Linked DNA regions of Homo sapiens: region 2 is linked to region 1. The links are contacts of gene promoters, found by promoter capture Hi-C in blood cells and fetal thymus (Javierre and others, 2016). All regions are on one chromosome and are shown on one strand. The core of a region is centred on a gene start or on the middle of the fragment in contact, and the rest is flanking DNA. Distances in the headings are between cores, read along the strand shown.

Region 1 (6,564 bases), core at 561-3,060:
TGTGAGCAAGTATGTACCATATCCTACCAACTTATCATCACTTAGGAATAAATTTCAGACTAGCCTACCATATAATAAAATATGGCAATAGTGACTTGACTTGAAACCATAGCAGGAAAACACAAACACACCAGATAGTTTGGCATAACTGCTTCGCAAATTTAATACAGGCCTGCTGCAAAATGCAGCAATCTACAATTAAAGTGTTATGTGATATCTCTTGTTTGCAGTAAGATACAAACTGAACAATGAAAATCTGGCCATACTACAAAACAGAGATGGAGAGTAAGTCTTGGTTTTGGTAGTTTTATTAAATAAGATTTTTCCACCGCAGCTGAGTTCACAACAGTGTACTTGAATCATCTAAAGAAAGCAAGGACGGGGAAGAAATATCCTGGAGAAATGTTGAAATCTTTTCTCCTCCAAGGTTACTATCACCCTGCCTGTCCATCACAATTTTGATTTCAAGTATTCACGATGCTGGTCTGAAACACAGGATGCATCAGAAGCCAAGTAATGCTCAGCAAAAGTTCACCAAAATTGTGAAAGCAAACATTAAATAAAAAACGTTTTCAATTAACAGTAAAATATCTTTAAAGGATCATCTCTAGCCTTTCTTTCTGCAGGATCCACCCACTTTAAAATCCTTTGGTAAATTCCCAGGTCTACCCTAATTGAATGGTCCCTCTCTATCTGCTCAAGCAGTTCTTAACCCTTTGGAGTGGGGATGGGGGTAAGGGGACATCACAGCAAATATGGACCCTTACCAAAGAAAATTATTCACAAATGCAAAATTCTACACACATTTCCAAAGACTTCCAGAATCCCACGGCCATTACCCCCACCGCCTCCCTAAGAATCCCAGAGTGGCGTGCTTCTCAATGGCCTCTGCGGAGCACCCCCAGCCCCCAAGCCACAGCCCCCGGCTCGACCCCGAAGAGACTAGAGTTCCTGCTCTCACACAGCGGATTCCGTAACTGAGCTTTGTCTCCTCGCCCAACTCCCTTCACCCCGGCAAGGTCACTACCGCCAACTACCCCTTTAAGCCGAGCCATCACGGTAGGAGTTCGTAACAGCCACAGCAGAACTTGCCTGTCATAGGATATATTTTGTCCCCTCGGCCCCACCTACCCTCCCCATTTCGGCAAGTTACGTCTTTACCACTAGCCCATTCTACAGAAATAGCTGCCGCCGCCACCCTCCGGCGCGCCCCGGCCCCGCCGCTCCGCCTCCAGCGCCCCCAGGCCCATTTCCCGCAGACCCTCCCCGGGCCGCCCTCCCCTGCCCTACTCTAGGCGCTCCCTCTCCCTCGCAGCCACACCGTGGCTGCACTCGCCGTCCTCTCTTCCGGCCGCTACCACCCCGGCCCCCTAGAACCCCAGCCTCCCGCGCCCGCAGCCGCGTTCCTGTCTCCCCGACCTCCGCACCCCCACTTGGCCCGGCCTCCTCGCCTTCCTCCCGGCTCCTCCCCTCAGGACACCTGTGTCGTCCCACCCCCTCCACCACACACGCACCCCCCACCCCAATTCCTTCGCCTCCCTGTCCTCCCTCCCCCGCCGGTCTCCCCTCCCCGCTGCTGCCCCGAGAGCCCGATGTGGGAGGGAAGGCGCGGGGGAGGGGAGGCCGCGAAGGGGGCTGCTTTTCTCCGGGTTCCCCGTGCTGCGGAACTGCAGGGCTCCCCAGCGCCCTCTGCCTTCTTCGCCGGCGGCGCGGAAGTCGGGGTCTCCCGGACGCCCCCGATGAGGGTATTTACCTTCTTGCCGGGGACACTTTGCAGACGGCTCCAACATTGGCAAACACTACAGAGAACTGACCCCGCTCGGCCGCCGCCGGCTTCCACCCCTCGGGCTCCCCGCCCCCCGCCTCCGCCCGCCTCCGCCCGCCTCCCCGGCGCTCCCGCCGCGCCCTCCCGCGCTCGCGCCGCGCGCCCCCGCCTGCGCAGCCGCTCCCGCGCCCCAGCACGCCCGGCCGGCGCGCGCGCCCGGCACCGGCTCTACCTCCACTCCGCCTCCCGCCGGCCCGCGACCAAGCGCGGCCATTGTTCGCGACGCAGCTCCCGCCCCCTGGCGGCTGCCGGGCCCCAGCAGCTGCAGGCTCTGCGGGGCTAGCGGCGGCGAGCTGGGCCCCTGGGCGAGGGCCATTCCCGGGGGGCTTGGGCACGCGGGCGAGCGACTGCGCAAGGAGCGCGCCCGGTCCGCAGTCTCCTCGTCCCCGGCGCGACTCCCCGCCCCCTCGTCTGCCAAGGGTGGGCCTGGGGCAGCCCCTTCCACACCTGCAACTCGGCAACTTCCTTCCCCGCCCGACTGACCGTCTGCTCTTTCTGGTCCGCACCCTGTGCTCTGATTCCCCGCTCGTACCTTTCCCAGGCTCTCCGGCTGCCCCTCTGTGCTGTGCAGGGGACGCGCGACCATCCCGCGTCTGCTCCGGCCGCCGCTGTGCAACGCACGGTTTAGCGGATCTTGCACCTTTCTAGACGGGGGAGGGGGCGGGGAGGAGGTTGCTTCACCGTCTCGCCCAGCAAACACCAGGGATCCGTGATCACCTGCTCGCCAAGACCCGCGGCGTGGCCAGACCTCCTCTTCTACCGAAAATATTAGTCACATGAAAAAGAATCCTTGGAGCCAAAAATGAGAACCATTGAAAACAATGCCCTGAATCCTAGATTTATGAGGCAAGAGTGCCAGAAAACAGAAATTACGTCTTAATTCGTCCTGGTTTTGATGTGGATTACTTTTGTCTAGATAACTTCAACCCAGTTAAGCTCAATGAAACTGAACACTTCGTTTAGTAACCGGCACCAAAAATAATCTGACAAAGAAATTTCGAAATAGAACTATTAGTGTGTTTTCACAAACTTACTCGTTTGCAACGTTATTTCTAGGGTTTCTTCCCAGTGTCACTTCTCTGACTGAGAAATGTCTCCCAGGCCGGTGATTTCAGTCATCATCTAAAACCAATCTCATGTCTGCACCTGGGAAGGTAGTGTGTGTCCTGGTTAACCGCAAGGGCGCCAGAGTCAGATAACCAAGGCTGGATATCCGCTTGCTAACTGGTGAGGAGACCACGGGCATGTTACTTATCCTGTGCATCAAGAGGAGACTACATGTGATAGATAGTTCGTATTTAAATGTGACAATACATATGAAGCCCTTTAAATAGGACCGGGTATGTAGTACCTCTCCTGGTACAATGTTAGCTACAGCTATATTTTTCCTCCCAGAACTCTTTCCTATGCTCCTTTCCCCCCTTTTCACCTCTGCCAGTTCCCTCGGATTTAACATGTTGCATCCTCCCTAAATTTGCTGTGCTCCTTCTAGCGGCTTACGCACCCAGTCAGCATTCTAATACAGTCATGCCTTACCTAGCCACAAGGATATGTTCTGAGGAACGTGTCATTAAGCGATTTTTGTTGTTTTGCGCACATCATAGCGTGTTCTTACGCAAACCTAGGTAGTCTAGCCAACTACTTGCTTTGGCTATATGGTATATAGCTATTGCGCCTAGGCTGCAAACCTGTACAGTGTGTTACTGTACTAATACTGTAGGCAATTTTGCAACACAAGGGTATTTGTACCTAAACAGAAAACCTACAGTAAAAGAACTATATAATCTTTTTTTTTTTTGAGACGAAGTCTCGCTCTGTCACCCAGGCTGAAATGCAGTAGCACAATCTCAGCTCACTGCAACCTCCACCTCCCGAGTTCAAGCAATTTTCCTGCCTCAGCCTCCCTGGTAGCTGGGATTACAGGCACATGCCACCACGTCCAGCTAATTTTTGTATTTTTAGTAGAGACGGGGTTTGACCATGTTGGCCACGCTGGTCTCGAACTCTTGACCTCAAGTGATTCCCCGCCGGCCCCCCCCCCCCCCGCCCCTCCCCACCACCTCGGCCTCCCAAAGTGCTGGGATTGCAGGCGCCCGGCTTAAAGAACTGTATAATCTTATGGGACCACCGTTGTATATGCAGTCCACCTGTCCATCATTGACTGAAAGAAGTTGACCAGAAATTGTTGAATATTTTGAATGAATACCTTACTTTCCCACCAGCCATACCAAGGGTCAAGCTGCCTACCTCTGTGTCTTTCCATAGGCTATTCTCTCTCCCTTCAGGCTACCCTTCTCTCGCCTGGTGAACAAATAATCTTTCACGGCATTCAAAAATCACCTTCTTGGCCGGGTGTGGTGGCTCACACCTGTAACCTCAGCACTTCGGGAGGCCGAAGCGGGCAGACCACGAGGTCACGAGTTTGAGACCAGCCTGGCCAACATGGTGAAACTCCATCTCTACTAAAAATACAAAAATTAGCTGGGCGTGGTGGCACACACCTGTAATCCCAGCTACTTGGGAGGCTGAGGCAGGAGAATTGCTTGAACTCGGGAGGCAGAGGTTGCAGTGAGCTGAGTTCGAGCCACTGCACTCTAGCCTGGGCAGCAGAGCAAGACTCCATCTCAAGAAAAAAAAGAAAAAAAATCACCTCCTTGAGAGGCATTCTCTAACACTCCTCTGAGCAGGCGAGTGCTCTTCTCTTGTACCTCTCTTCTCTGATATTGTAGGTATGTTAGAATTTTTTTTTTTAGCCTGTCTGTATCTACCAAACATTGCATTGTTGAAGGGCAGGCTCTGTGTCTCATGCATATCTGTAGTCCCAGCATCCAACAGCAAGTAGGTGGACGGTAAATCCTTTGGTATAAATGGATGAGTTTATACTTTTGGAAAGAACTCTGGGGTGGTCAGATTTCATTCTCTTTGATTCAGATCCTTAAAGTTAATTGAAAACTTTATCCCTCCCGTAACTGTTCCTCATAACTGATTTTCAGTCATTGGTAAACCCCAAATAGAATGAATTTTTCTAAGTCACAATTATCAGAAAGGAAATTGTTTTTTAATTGAATCAGCACTTTCAGTTGCTCAAGGTATATAGTATCAGTACATGAAATCACCTGAGTGACATGGAAATCCACACATCACTCTACAATCATTTTAGGATTTACTTTAAAATAAAATATTTGTATAGGAGTTGAAAATAATGAATATTTAAAGAGCGGTGGGCCAGCCGGCTGTGGTGGCTCACGTCTATAATCCCAGCACTTTGGGAGGCTAGCGTATCACCTGAAGTCAGGAGTTCGAGACCAGCCTGGGCAAAATGGCAAAAACCCCATCTCTACTAAAATTAGAAAAACTACCTGGGCGTGGTGGTGCGTGCTTGTAGTCCCAGCTACTCAGGAGGCTGAGGTGGGAGGATCACTTGAGCCTGGGAGGCAGAGGTTGGAGTGAGCTGAGATCACACTACTGCACTCCAGCCAGGGCCACAAAGAAAGACCCTGTATCAAAAAATATAAATAAATAAAGAACAGTGGGCCTATTAATAGGCAGCTGATTAAAGCAAATGAGGCCAGGCGCAGTGGCTCATGCCTGTAATCCCAGCACTTTGAAAAGCCAAAGAGGGAGGATCTCTTGAAACCAGGGGTTTGAAACCAGCGTGGGCAGTAAAGTGAGACCCCACCTCCATTTAATTAAAAATAAATTTAAAATTAAATTTTTTTTTAAAAAGCGTCTGTTTTATCAACACATTTTTACCAGTCACCATTGCAGTGAAATGTTCAAGCATCAGGAAAAAGATAATGCTTTCAAATTCACCATTATCGGATTTGAGCAGTTTGAATGGGACAGATTCCAGAATCACAAACTCCAGTTTCCTTCTATGTCCTCTTCTTTCTTATATTATATCTTATATTATGATGCCCTTTTCTTGACATTTATTTTCCTGTAAAATTCATCTAGCCCCCAGCACCCACCATAGAAGTTACCCTCCTTTATTGATGATATCTGAATTTTTTTAAATTCTTTTTTTGAGACAGAGTTCTTGCTCTCGCCCAGGTTAGAGTACAGTGGTACAATCTTGGTTCACTGCAACCTCTGCCTGCAGGGTGCAAGCGATTCTCATGCCTCAGCCTTCTGAGTAGCTGGGATTACAGGCATGTGCCATCAGGCTTGGCTAATTTTTGTATTTTTGGTAGAGACAGTTTGTTTTGCCATGTTGCCCAGACTGGTCTTGAACTCCGGGCCTCAAGTTATCTGCCCTCCTCGGCCTCCCAAAGTGCTGGCATTACAGGAATGAGCCACTGCATGGCCCTGAATTTATTTTTATCACTACACACTATTTATGTGTTTCTTCTACTATATCTTAAGCTCCTTGAAGGCAACAACAATGACTTTCTCTTCTTTGTTTCTCTGGGACTTAGCACAGTGCTCACTAAATGCTTGTCAAATGAAGGGATTAGCAAATTTGACCAACATTTACTGAATACCCACTATGGGCCAAGTACTATTCTTGGCCTAGGGATGTGTAGCAACGAAAAAAATCTGCAAAATCTTTGTCCTCATGGAACTTACAGGGGAATGAATGAATAACAAATGCATGAAATAAGCACTTCCAAACACTGTACTTTATTAGAATAGCATTCTGAGGCCGGGCGCGGTGGCTCACGCCTGTAATCCCAGCACTTTAGGAGGCCGAGGCAGGCAGATCATGAGGTCAAGAGATCGAGACTGTCCTGGCCAAC
Region 2 (6,526 bases), core at 2,648-5,147, 260 kb after region 1:
GTGTTTTGTTTTGCTTTGTGTTGTGTCTTGGTTTTCCTCTCTATGACTTTGCTTGTTATCAGCTTAGAAAAAACTAACGCAGGTGGGGTGATAGCATGGGGCTGTATCTCAGTCTCTGTGCAGACACAAAACTTTTTCCTCTCCTACCAGTTACCAAACATTGTTTATTGCCTGTAAGCTCTGGAATCCCAGAAAACTTTAGTTTTAATCTTTATCATCATCATTATCACATAATTTACATCCTAGTTTAGATTTGGAGCTTGTTTTAGATTAATACTTTACAGAGTAGTTTTACATGAATAAGCTTAAACATTTTCCCCCGATTTTAGTTCTCTGGCTTACCAGAAAAATGAAAAACAACAACAACAAAATCCCCAAAACTGAGAACCCAGGAATGATAGACAACAAACTTGTGTTTTAATTTTCATGATTCTAGTTGTTCAACCTGTTTTTTTGACACTCTGTATCTGCATTCATTTATTCACTAAAAAGATGCTTAGTAAATTGTAAGTATCATGCTAGGCACTGTGAATTCATTGATAAGATATTCTCTCTCTCTCTCTTTTTTTCTTTTGAGATGGAGTCTCTGTCTGTTGCCCAGGCTGGAGTACAGTGGCATGATCTCGTCGGCTCACTGCAGCCTCTGCCTCCCGGGTTCAATCCATTCTCCTGCCTCAGCCTCCCGGGTAGCTGGGATTATAGGCACCCACCACCATGCCTGGCTAATTTTTGTATTTTTAGTAGAGAAGGGGTTTCACCATGCTGACCAGGCTGGTCTTGAACTCCTAACCTCAAGTGATCCACCCGCCTAGGCCTCCCAAAGTGCTGGGATTACAGGCGCGAGCCACCGTGCCCAGCCAATAAGACATTCTCCTGATCTTCAGGAATCCATCAGTGCAATAGGAGAGACAGAACTGCAGATAGTATGGTATAAGTGAAGTGACAGCAACAGGGCTTAGTGACAGCACAGAGCAAAGGATGATTAACTCTATTTCCTTCACTTTCCTGGCCAAAGATAAAATAAATAATCTAAAGTTTTGCTTGGCTAAGGCTCTACAGTTTCTTCTTTTTTCCTAGGTTCTGTTTTCTGGTCTGTTGGCAGGTTTTACCCCTACACAATTGGCATAAAGGATGATTTACATAATGAATAATCTCACTTTCAAGTGAATCCCTTGCCCTTACTCGCAGGAAACAGGTTGTATCTTTCCAGGCCAAGATAATAAGACAGTACGAAATCATTTAGAGTTCTCTGAAAAGCAGACACTAAGAAGGAATTAGGCTAGAGATTTCTTGGAGGAAACGCTTGTGAACAGTAAAGGGGAGAGGAAGCCAGAGTAGGCTAGGAGAAAATTCAGATTGGGGTGCAGGTCTGATACCTTTGAAAAGAGAGTAGGGAGGAAGGAGAATTAAGTAGGATAATCCTCAGACCAGAATGCATCCCTGAGACACTCTTGGGCTGGGCCAAATAGGAAGCCCCAGAGCAGAATGCCTGTTGTAAGAGACCCATGACAGGCGGGAGTAGCCTGGCTCTAGGGTCCTTGCAGTGCTGGATCATTATAGGAGCAGCCTACGAGAGGGTGGCCTCTGGCTGAGTGCTGAGATAGATGTGAAGGTATGGCAGCTGCAGGCTGTCTGCCAGCTACTCTTCTCACAGCAGCTGCTTTTGAAGGGAAATTTGAGGGACATACCTCAATGGCCATCACAAGTGTTTTATAATTTCTCACTAAATATGACATTTATATAACAAATTATATTAATTCATTAACAAAATAATTATTCAGTCATATTTTTATAGCGCAATTATGTTTCCATAGAATATACTATAATGTTGGTATAAAGTGTGAGGCCACATTCATGGAAATCAACCTTATTTTTATGGCCTCATTTCTACTTGAATTCAGGAAGAGATACAAGTACAAACTTGAACCAAAAATAGGTTGAGAATGGAAATGATATCTTTTGAGATGTCATAGCCTTGCTAGTAAATTATTTGTATATTATTAACTGATTGACAAATCAAACTGGAGCATAAGCTTCCTTCAAGGTTATTTCTGGAAGTTCCTGGAATTGTCTTTGGTAAGCTAAAAAATAGTCCTCTTTTATACCACATGACAGCCTCCATGTTTCTTTTCTTTTTTTGAGATGGAGTCTCACTCTGTCACCCAGGCTGGAGTGCAGTGGCGTGATCTCGGCGCACTGCAGCCTTTGCCTCCTGGGTTCCAACGATTCTCCTGCCTCAGCACCCCTGGTAGCTGGGATTACAGGCGCCTGCCACTGCACCCAGCTAATTTTTGTATTTTTAGCAGAGACAGGGTTTCGCCATGTTGGCCAGGATGGTCTCGAACTCCTGACCTCAGGAGATCTGCCCGCCTTGGCCTCTCAAAGTGCTAGGATTACAGGCGTGAGCCACCGCGCCCAGCCCATGTTTCTTGTCTCTCACTCCAACACCCATATTGACATCCCCAGCCTGCTGAGCCACAAAAGTGGTGTCTCATTGTTGCCATCGTTCATGTTCTTAACGTGACCACAGTGGTGTCCAAGGACAAGGAGTTTCTCACAACTTAAACTATTGAGTTGTCAAAGCAGGACTTCCTTTCCTGGAGTTATTGAAGACTGGAATCTTGCTGTGTTTCACGAAGAAATGGAAGAAGGTCCTTTGCCCTGCATTGTCACTGGACACCACAGTGGTGCTGTCTTGTGCTTCTGTGTCTCCAGGAATTCCTTATGAAAATGGTCTTTCAACTTCTACACACAGCACTGCTTTTGGAGAAGTTCAAGCCCAAGTCCATGGAGTAGGCCATGGGATCACTGTTTGAAACAGACGCCATGATATTCTTCTCCACACCCTACCCTGAAAGTTGAGAAGTGAAGACAAATTAGGAAAGTTGGTGGTGCTTCAGGTTCAGAGCAATGAGGGCCTACATGAAGGCAGCGCGGTAATGGGGATGAAAAGGAGGTTAGAAAGATTTACTGGGACTGGGAATTCTAGTGCCAACTTGGTGATGAAGAGGAGGAAATCACTTTTAGATCTGTTGGGTGAGGTAACTGGGCAACATTTGAGTAGAGATATTGAATAAATACATGGGATCAATGCTCAGGAGAAAGGTTGAGACTAAAGTTGACTTGAGAATTGTCACCTTATGTGGTACTTGGCCTGAGAGAGTGTGCAGAGTGAAAACTAAGGAGAACTGAGGATAGATCCTGGAGAAATCCAGGAGTCGATGAAATAGACTGAGGAAGAGGAGTCAGAGAGATTGGAGGACACCTGGAAGGGAGTGGTTGCACCAACACCAAAGAAGGTTTAGGGAAAGGAGCAGGCAGTTCTGTTAAGCATAGCCAAGTTCAAATTAAAGTTAGAAAAGTTGTCTTTTGATTATGGTTACAATGAGTCATGGTGATCTTACTAGGAAAATATTTTCAGTGAGGTAGTGGTTGCAAAATTGTTTTCTTTATGAAAAGGATTGTGCATCTTTTTTGGCCAGGCATGGTGGCTCATGCCTGTAATCCCAGTACTTTGGGAGGCTGAGGTGGGTGGATCACGAGGTCAGGAGTTCAAGACCAGCCTGGCCAAGATGGTGAAACCCCATCTCTACTAAAAATACAAAAATTAGCTGGGCACGGTGGTAGGCGCCTGTAATCCCAGCTACTCCAGCGGCTGAGGCAGAAGAATTGCTTGAACCTGGGCAGCGGAGGTTGCAGTGAGCCAAGATTACGCCACTGCACTCCAGTCTTTCTCAAAAAAAAAAAAAAAAAAAAAAAAAGAAGAAAAGAAAAGAAAAGAAAGAAAAGGATTGTGCATCTTTTTCATTTGGGCCAACTGAATAAGTTGGAAGAGTTGAGAAAAATGCATTGATTACTGGAATTTTTCATGGTAGCTGGAAATAGGGAGATCATGAGGAAATTAAAAAATAGGCATACATTTAATTTTTCATCAAAAGATTCTATTTTATTCTCAAGAAATCTTTCATCAGAACTCCTAGAAAGTTGACTGTCTCACTGTCCTTCCTTTCCTTTTCTTTTCTTTTGAATTTTCTAGCAGAACCATAGAACTAGACATTTTATGTCTTTATTTGATAGTTTTCTCAATGAAGTTATGAAGGCTCTTCTGTTTTTAGGCAGAGCATGCATAGTTTTACTGTGGAACATTGTATTTGATTATGATTTACTAGTTGCCCTCTCAGAACTTCAGTTTTCTCATCTGCAGAAGAAGAGTAATAATTGACATCTTGTAGATAGTTGTGATGATTAAATGAAATAATGTAAGAAAAGCACAGGGCCCCTTTTAACTATACAATAAATGTTAATTACTATGTATAAAAGAATCTACTATTTGAGGGCCTAATGGGATTTTTTCTTTTAAAGGGAGAGATTTAAAGCAATTATATTTCAATCTCTATATAACTGTCAACACCATGAATCTTCCAAAGCGCAAAGAAGTTATTTGCCGAGGATCTGATGACGATTACTCTTTTTGCAGAGCTCTGAAGGGAGGTAAGTATTCAGTTCATATTACTTTTAGAATAGGAAATAATTCTTTATGAAAATGTTATGAAAATTAAATACATTGAAAATGGGAAGTTCCTTTTCTGCTAATAATTCTTTTTCCATCCAAAGTTTTTACTTTAGCAGCTTAAATAACATTTTATAACTATATACTTGAACTGTTAGGATGACACTTACATGATTTGTATTATTAATATTTTTCATAGTAACCCACCAGATTTTCTATACAGTCCTTGGTTTCTTTAGTGACTTCTGCCTTTATGTTCCTCCTTGGAATTATTTACAGAATAATAACATTCAGAAATTAGGACCCTTACAGAGATCTTGCACCAAGGGATAAAAAAATAAAAAATAAAAATGAATAAAAAAAAGGAATTACCACTTTAGAGCTATATTCCAGCTTTTCCATTTACCAGCAATGTGACTTTTGGCATGTTATTAATATTTAACCTTTCTTGGCCTCATTTTCCTCAGCTATAAAATGGGAAAGTAAAACACATCATACATAGTTTTAAGAATTAAATTTGAGAATGTATGTTAAAAAAAAAAGCCTAGTACAGTGTTCAGAATAAGAATCCTTCTTTTGTTATGAATTTTCCAGTCCTGTCATCTTTATAATGAGGGAACTGATGTTTGCAGTGGCTTAGTAATGTGTCCATGGTCATTTGGAGAACTAGTAACAGAGCAGCATCCTAACTCTAAGACATGACTCTCCTACTGTGTCATGCTTTCTCTTTGGAAAAAAAAAATCCCTTAGCAGATTACTGTTTTTTTTTTTAATTGTGCATTTCTTTTACACAATCTCTGTGGAATTACATTGATATTTTACCTGAATCTTCAAAGTTTCTCTTTCTTGAGACCTCAGAGGTGTCAGACTCAAATCAGCTTGTCTACTTCTTCTCTCCCTCCTCCCACTTTCTTCCATAAACATCTATTGAACCTAATTTGAGCAAATCGTGATTTACGTTCTGGTTATCTGAAGTTGAATGGTAGGATCTCCTTCCTCAGAAAGTTACTCTGGGGAAAACTGGATTGCCATATGCAGAAGAATAAAACTGGACCCCTAGCTCTCACCACATACAAAAATCAACTCAAGATGGATGAACAACTTAAGCATAAGATCTGCAATTACAAACATACTAGAAGAAACCTAGGAAAGATTCTTCTGGACATTGGTCTAGGCAAAGAATTTATGACAAAGATCTCAAAAGCACAGGCAATAAAGACAAAAGTAGACAAATGGGATTTAATTACATCAAAAAGCTTCTGCATAGCAAAAGAAATAATCAACGGAGTGAACAGACAACCTGTAGTATATGAGAAAAAATTCGCAAACTATTCATCCAACAGGGGACTAATATTCAGAATGTACAAAGAACTCAAGCAACTCAACAGCAACAACAAAAACAAATAACCCCATTAAAAAGTGGGAAGAGTGGCTAGGCGCAGTGGCTCACGCCTGTAATCCCAGCACTTTGGGATACCAAGGCAGGTGGATCATGAGGTCAGGAGTTCGAGACCAGCCTGGCCAACATAGTGAAACCCCATCTCTACTAAAACTACAAAAATTAGCCAGGTGTGGTGGCATGCGCCTGTAGTCCCAGCTACTTGAGAGGCTGAGGCAGGAGAATCGCTTGAACCCAGGAGGTGGAGGTTGCAGTGAGGCGAGACCATGCCATTGCACTCCAGCCCAGGTGACAGAGTGAGACTCCATCTCAAAAAAAAAAAAAAAAAAAGTGGGAAAAGGACATGAATAGACACTTATAGATACTTTTCAAAAGAACAGATAGAAATGGTCAATAGGTATATTACTAATCATCAGAGAAAAGCAAATTAAAGTTGCAATGAGATATCATCTTACCCCAGCCAGAATGGCTATTCTTAAAAAGACAAAAAGTAACAGATGTTAGCAAGAATATGGAGAAAAAAGAACTCATCCATTTTTGGTGGGAATGTAAATTAGTATAGTCTATGGAAAGCAATATGGAGATTTATCAAAGAACTAAAAATAGAACCACCATTC

What was found. The method cuts DNA at HindIII sites, captures the fragments that hold promoters and counts their contacts. A CHiCAGO score of 5 or more calls a contact.
Region 2: a contact is called between a fragment that was not itself captured here and the fragment with the promoter of STAU2 in region 1, in 3 of 17 cell types (activated CD4 T cells, neutrophils and non-activated CD4 T cells). The highest score is 9.1, in activated CD4 T cells.

The regions. Positions count from the first base shown.
Region 1 is chr8:73,745,030-73,751,593 of GRCh38, forward strand. STAU2 (staufen double-stranded RNA binding protein 2) reads right to left here and starts at 1,811. Exons shown (of 15, transcript NM_001164380.2): 1 at 1,754-1,811. RefSeq lists silencers at 1,214-1,273, 1,384-1,563, 1,854-1,943, 2,024-2,313. The HindIII fragment of the contact is 14,890 bases long and covers 1-6,564 here.
Region 2 is chr8:74,005,639-74,012,164 of GRCh38, forward strand. It overlaps LY96 (lymphocyte antigen 96), which reads left to right. Exons shown (of 5, transcript NM_015364.5): 3 at 4,363-4,491. Among named protein-coding and RNA genes, the nearest start is that of LY96, 18 kb to the left of the region's middle. The HindIII fragment of the contact is 3,733 bases long and covers 2,032-5,764 here.